Linked DNA regions of Homo sapiens: region 1 is linked to region 2. The links are contacts of gene promoters, found by promoter capture Hi-C in blood cells and fetal thymus (Javierre and others, 2016). All regions are on one chromosome and are shown on one strand. The core of a region is centred on a gene start or on the middle of the fragment in contact, and the rest is flanking DNA. Distances in the headings are between cores, read along the strand shown. Region 1 overlaps SLC37A2 (solute carrier family 37 member 2). Region 2 holds the start of NRGN (neurogranin).

The links. The method cuts DNA at HindIII sites, captures the fragments that hold promoters and counts their contacts. A CHiCAGO score of 5 or more calls a contact.
Region 1: a fragment that was not itself captured here is called in contact with the fragment with the promoter of NRGN in region 2 in 1 of 17 cell types (monocytes); the score reaches 5.1 in monocytes.

What each region holds. Positions count from the first base shown.
Region 1 is chr11:125,067,496-125,070,658 of GRCh38, forward strand. All of the region lies in intron 1 of SLC37A2 (solute carrier family 37 member 2), which reads left to right. Among named protein-coding and RNA genes, the nearest start is that of SLC37A2, 5.8 kb to the left of the region's middle. The HindIII fragment of the contact is 4,165 bases long and covers 1-3,163 here.
Region 2 is chr11:124,737,644-124,741,214 of GRCh38, forward strand. It overlaps NRGN (neurogranin), which reads left to right and starts at 2,299. Exons shown (of 4, transcript NM_006176.3): 1 at 2,299-2,456. The coding sequence starts at 2,442. RefSeq lists silencers at 1,998-2,057, 2,118-2,437. The HindIII fragment of the contact is 6,441 bases long and covers 1-3,571 here.

The DNA of each region.
Region 1 (3,163 bases), core at 166-2,665, 330 kb after region 2:
TAGAGAAGGCTGAGCATCTCTTCTGACTTGACAATTATTTCCAAGCAATTGATCAATATTAACATATTAAATAAATCTAATGATTTCTAGCACCTCTCTTTTTAAAAGATGAAAGAACAAATCTTTGTGGTTTTCCAGGAGCCCTTCCTCTTTTTAAATTAAATATTCACAAACTTATCAAGATTTTGCCAACTTTGGCAAAATTTTAACACATTTAATTGCTTATTTTTAGACTTATTGTTTGATGTACTATAATCCAAGACAAATCAAATTTCCTTTCTACAAACCTAAAATGTATCCATTCAGATTTGACCTTCCCTGTTCCCTTTCTTATTCTGGAACAACCAGTCATTTTTCTTATGTGTAATATTTTTCCTTTTAATAAACAAAAACAGGTTTCAATACCATGTATACAAAGTCATACCTCTCTGCCACGATTGTTCCTAGTAGAGTCTCATTCATGTATATTAGTTATATCTTTTAACCAAAGTAACTAACATTTCAGAGAGAATGGGGAGTGGGGAGGGTGGATCATTATAAACCATCTAGAACACATTGGCATTCTAGAAGGGCTCAGTAATACGCATAACATGACTTTCTCCAGCCTCCAACACTCTTCACTTTCACACTTCTCAAGGTGTGAATTCAGCTACGGTATTCCCCAACATCTCTGGGATTTATGACAGACCTTGGTTGAAATCCTTTCACCACTGTGAGCCTTGACTTTGCTGAGCCCCAGTTTCCTCATCAATAAAAGTCAGATGGGTTCTTGAGGATAAATGCGATAATATAAGGAAACATTCTTGACGTCTTGTGGCTGCTGGAGGGTACTCAACAGGTATCCTTTTACTTCCTTCCAGATAAGTTTAGATTTGGATTCCTATCAAACACTAAATGTCACGTAGTTCTTCTGTAAGTACATTATTATGCTGAGCTCTGAGGCCTGCAAAGACAATCAAGACAGGGTTCTACCTTCTTGGAACTAAGAATCAAGCTGGAGAGGGGCTGTGTACACACAGTCAGCAATTTTAGAAGGCCCTGCTCTACTTATTGAGTGCCAAAGGATGGCATTTCCTATGTGCCATGTCATTCAGAGGACCAGCGAGGGGAATGCAGAAGTCGGTTGGGGAGATTTTGAAGAAAACTGACTTGCTGAGCACTTAACACATAAAAGGTTAGAGATTATATGTATACATTGCCTGGTATACAGGAAGCATGGAATACATGGCGGCTTTTACTATCATTATTAATGATGGTGATGTTATTATTACAGATACATATTAACCCAATTCACCTTTCTTGTGCTAAACAAAATACAGGCCAGGGTGCAGACAAATAAAAATAAAGACTTATAGTCTGAAAATGAGAAATCAAATCTCTGTCACATTTAACTGCTTTCACATGTCCCCAAGGAGGGCATTTAAGAAGTGAAGAAGACAGAATAGGAAGCTGAAAGTGGACTGGCCCTGGGCCTTGGACTCCTCCTCTGTAAAATGAGGATAATAATAATACCTGTATCACACGAGTGTTTTGAGGTTTAAATGAGGTACTACGTGTAAGGTACTTAGGTCAGTGCCAGGCTGATATGAAACACTGAGTAAACACTAATGATTGACTATATTCTATTTGTTTTTCCTACTACTTTGTGCCAGGCATTGTTTATTTGTAATTTTTGTGGAACTGCAAGGTGAATGTTAGCTTCCCTGTGGAACATATGAGTGTAATGAGGCACAGAGCAGTTATGTAAGCCTGTCCAGCACCACACAGCTGATAAATGACTGAGCTGGAGTTGGAATCAAGATTAGTCTGACTCGTAAGCCCATGGTCTTTCCGCTGCCTTCCTAATGATAGTGTTGGGTGGGGAAAAGATTACATGGCCATTTGGCCTTGGACAAATTACTTAACATCTCCCAGGCTCAATTTCCTTATCTATGAAATGGAAAAAATGATGTACCTATATCACGGGGTTTTGGTGAAATTAAATGAGAAGCTGCTTAAAGCACTTAGCCCAGTGTCTAGCGTAGTTGGTATTGGCTAGGTGCTTATAAATTTCTGTGGAGGGAGAGAATCATCTCCATTAGGAGAAGAAGGAAGTCTTTGACTTGGATCTGGAGGTGTTCTGAGCAGAGGTCACAGAGCCAGCAAAGGCATGCAAGTGGAGACATGGCCTGTCCCCTGTCTCTGAAGTAGTAACATGTAGCTCCAGCTGGTAGGAACAAAAGGTGCCCCTGGACAGGAGGCTGGGAGTCATGTGGCGCCAGGTGTGTGGAGACAGCTGCAGACATCCAGGCAAGAGTCAGAGATGGCGGAGTTTCTGTCCAGGAAGATGTTGCTCTCCTCCTCCTGTTAGGCCTTCCTCGTCAGGATGACAATGAATGGCTTGTCCATGGCGTTTCAGAGCCACAGAGCACCTGGAGGTTCCCCAGCCTGGAGCCTGGCTGGTTCCTGCCTTTTGTACCAGTGTCTGTGTGGGTGCGTCTGGGGGCAGCTGGCAGCATGGGAGATGACTGTGGCTGGTGCTTATGGGGCTGGGCCCATTTCCTGGGGCCCTCTGAGGGGGATGGCCCAGAACGTGCAGAAGAAGAGCCTGTGGGAGGAAATACCAGGGTGACCACAGCTGGATGAGCAGGAATGGGCAGGAGGGTGAATTGGGCAGGCAGGAAGAGCAGGAGCTGTGAGCTCCTGTGGTGCCATTTTTCCCACACCTCGATCTTCCCCTGTGAGCTGCAAAAGGCCACAGCTGAGCTAGAATGGATGGTTCTGCCCTGTGGAGTTAGCTAAGGGCTTTCACTGCCGGATCCTGGTGCCCACTCTGAGGAGGACGCAGGGGAAAGACATTCAAATTCATACTGAGAGAAAATCTGCTGTGTGCCAGACACTTCCACATCCAGGATATCTCATTTAATCTTTATAACACTCTCGTGCAGCAGGGGAATATGATCTTATTTAAAGGAAGATCGAACTGAGGCTTAGAGACGTACAACAACTTGCCCAAGGTCACATTAAGTGGCAGAACCAGAAATTAGGACTCAGCCAATTTTGCTCGAAGTCTGATGTCTGTTTCCCTGTCCTATGGGCTAGCTCTCTCAAATCTTACTTTCCTGTTGACTGCAAAGAGGTGCATGGTAAGGGCAGCAGAAAGGGCTGTTTAAAATGAGCTTTG
Region 2 (3,571 bases), core at 1,049-3,548:
GGGTGTGTGTCTCTGGGTGTGTGGGCAGTGTGTGTGTCTGCATCTTTGGGTCTGTGTGTGTAATTTCTATGAGGCCATATGTGTTACTGCTCCTGCCACTGGTATTTGAGTTTGTGAGTGTCTGTCTTCTCATCTCAGGCTCTGCCTTCCTCTCTGTCTTTTCCTCACCTCAGAGCCTGCCCATCCCCCAGGGCCAGCACTGTGGCCAGTTCTGCGTAGGCGCCTTGAGTGGGCTGTTGCTGAAATGGTTGCTTTGCGGATGGAACTGACAGTTGCCGTATCTGTTCTCCTATGGGCCCTCCAGTGTTCAGAGACACCCTCACCCCACACAAAGGTGTCCTTCAGGAAGAGGGAAGGGCTGTGCTGCCTGTGTGGGAGTTGGTGGGGGGGGTGTTGTAAAGATACCCCCCCTTCAGTTCTGACCAGCAGGAAGAAGGGCCCAGAGGCAGCGCAGTCTGCAGAGGGATGTTGCCTAGCAACTTGGGAGACTTGACTGCAAACTCACCAAATCCCGAATTCCTCAGCTCTAATTTGGGAAGAGAAAAGCACAGAGTCTAGGCCTGGTATCCACTCTGTCCCCCAATTTCCCCCTTTCCTCTCCTCTCTGGATTCTGGAGTTGAAGTCCAGCAGGAATTGGCACAACAGAAGGCCACAGATGTGCGTGTCATTTAGGCAAGGGCCTGAGTTCCCAGGACATCTGGCCACTTGGAGGAGGTGGGGAGATGAAAGATGTGCCAGAGACAGATTGGGGAACAGATTTTTTTTTACAAAAGTGGGTGGGTCCCAAACATGCTGGGAGAGACACCCCTACACCCCAAGCCCTGGAATCCCGGCCAGCATCCAGCTCAGCCTGGGACCCCAAGCTGGCTAACCTTATCCCCACCCTGAATGGACTCAGGCATTTCTCTCCCACTCATTTTTCCTTTGGCAAGCAGAGCCTCGGGCCCAAACATCTAGGTGGAAAGGAAGCATGTCACCGCCACGTGGTCCCTGGTCATGGCCAGGGACTGGGGATGCACAGCAGAGCTGTCTCAGGATCTGCTGTCCCAACCAGAGCCACAGGGCATTTCCCACCTTTGCTCCCAGCAGGAGCCATCCTTTCCTCCTTCCCTTCTCTGGGACCTTAGCTGAGAAGACTTTCTAGTTTTCTCAGAGAAGGCCTACCCTACCCACATAACAAGCCACACTGCCAGCTTTTGTACCCTGCCGAGTTGGGGGAGGCTGACGACCACAACAGTGGCAGTCTGTCCCTCCCAGATGCTCTTTCCATAGCTCCCCTTCCCAGCCTCTCACGAAGCCCACATCCTGCCTCATCATGGACCCAAGAGCCAATTACTTCGAATTCTCTACACTTGGGTTTAGGGTATTTTTCTTCTTCTCAGGAGCAAGGGCGAGGATGGCCAGCTTTTGTCTTATTCTGAGGCAGCAGATCAAAAGGTTAGGCAGAGTCTGGTATGAAAGGGAGGAGGATACTTCTTCCAAGTCTGTGCCCATATATAAATACATACAAAATAGGTGTTGTGCATATATGATGTTGTTTGTTGCAGCTCATGTAGACAGATCGATAATAGATACGTCATGCCGACAGCTTGAGTTGGGTGACTGTCCGTGTGCGTGCGTGAGCGCGCGGGCGCCCGCAACAGGGTGTCCGCATTTACCTGCAACTGAAGGGCTGCGTAGTTATTTTTGCAGGTTGTATCTGCAGTGTCTGTATGCTGGAAGAAGGCCTGGGAAAATCATATGTGGACATGTGGGGCTTGTGAGCTTTTGTGTGGACGCATGCCCATCGCCAGGTTGTACCAACAGGTTTCTCCGTCTGTAGCAGGAGTGATGATGAGACCTTTTTACCGCCCGTTAGGGAGCCTTTCTTTGCGGACTGAGGGGGAGTGAAGTGAAAGGGAGCCATATTTGGGACTCCTGCTAGGTTGTGGAAGTATGGAGGGATGGGTGAGGGGTGCGTGGTTTTCTCTGAGCGGGAGTAGGTGCTGTGCCCAGATGTGGGTGTTTGTGCTCGGGGTGTCGGGGGCCTCCTTCTGCCTACTCCGGCGTACATCTGCCTGGCAGTCTGCCGCCTAGCAAGCCAGGGGATTGCGCCCGGGAGGATGGAGTGTGTAGGAGGCTTGGATACAAGCGTGTAGGCGGAGGGGCTGGGGCAGGAGCGGGAGCGCGGCGCAGAGAGCCGCGAGAGGGCGTGGCCCTCCCTCCACTTCTCCCCGCCCACCCTGCCGGAGGCTGCTCCTGATTGGCTTCCCGGCCGCGGGGCTCAGGTTACATTCGCGAGCGGAGCCGAGCGCGGGAGACCGGACCCGAGAGCAGAGCTGCTGTTTCGGCGCGGGTCGGCTGGCGGCCGACTGCCCCAGAGCCCCCACCCGGCACCACACAGACCCCACCCCCGCCCTGCGCCAGCCTTCGTCCCCGCAGAGGACCCCCCGACACCAGCATGGACTGCTGCACCGTAAGTTAGAGGGCCCGGGGGAGGGGCACTTGGCGGGGTCCGCTGCGAGAGGCGCCTGAGAAAGCCCTGGAGGGCGAGAGAGGGATGGAAGTGGATGCGGAAGACCTAGGAGCAGAAAGAAAAGGGGTCCTTGCCGAGACGTGGGTGGTGGATGGTGGAAGGCGCCCGCCCGACTTGGAAGCCCTAGGAAAAATGCTCCTCAACTCGCGGGGGCGTCTGAGCGCCCATCCGTTAGACAGCCTAGGCTGGACTGGGAGCTCGGCAGGGCTCTGCAAGAGGGGAACTGCGGGTTGGATGACAGGAGGAACTTCCTCCCCAGTGAGACGCTGGCAACCATCGCCTGGAGACACTGCAGCGACTCCTTCCTCCCGTCTTTCGGCCCCCACCCCGTTCCCCATCCCACTGCGCCGCCGTCGGTGGGCGGACAGGCTGATCCTCATGACCCTCCAACGATCGCCTAAGCGCCCTGTGCAGCGCAGGCTGGTCCATATTGGTTAGCTCGGTAGTGATGCTGGCTGCAAAGAGCCTAGTCAGGGTGGTTCTGGGGAGGGGTTGTCCCGGCCCCCAAGGCCTTCTCGCTCGGAAGGGGCTGGGTGAAGTGACCGCGAGAGAGCCCTGCTGGCGAGGAAAGGAAGTGTCTGCAATTTGTCAGCGCCCACGCGGAAACCTGGGTACTGCAAGTGCCCAGCGCCCGAGGGGTTTGCTGTAAAGGTGACTCGGTATGAAAGCGCCTGGCATAGGCCCTGGCTCCTGCCTCACTGGAAGAGTACAGTGATCATACGTATATGAAATTTATTTGTTTGCTTATTTATTTTTTGCCTCTGCACTTGGAGAAAGACTATTCCAAAGTCCTTGTATTTTCAGTCATTCAGTCAACCAGCTAATGATACACGAGGTTACTGACTTTGCCACCTTATGGCATAGTAAAGAAAAAAAAAGTGGGCTTTGGAAGGGAAGGATAGCCCAGTTCTATAATAGGTGAGACTTTCCCATGTCTGGGTACCAAGAGGCAGAGAACACTTAGGGGCAAGTGGTGGTGGTTGCGATTTTAACTCTTATTAGTTTAAGTAATAGTTGCCAGTTTGTGAATGCCTGCCCTGTAGCCAGCACTTTAT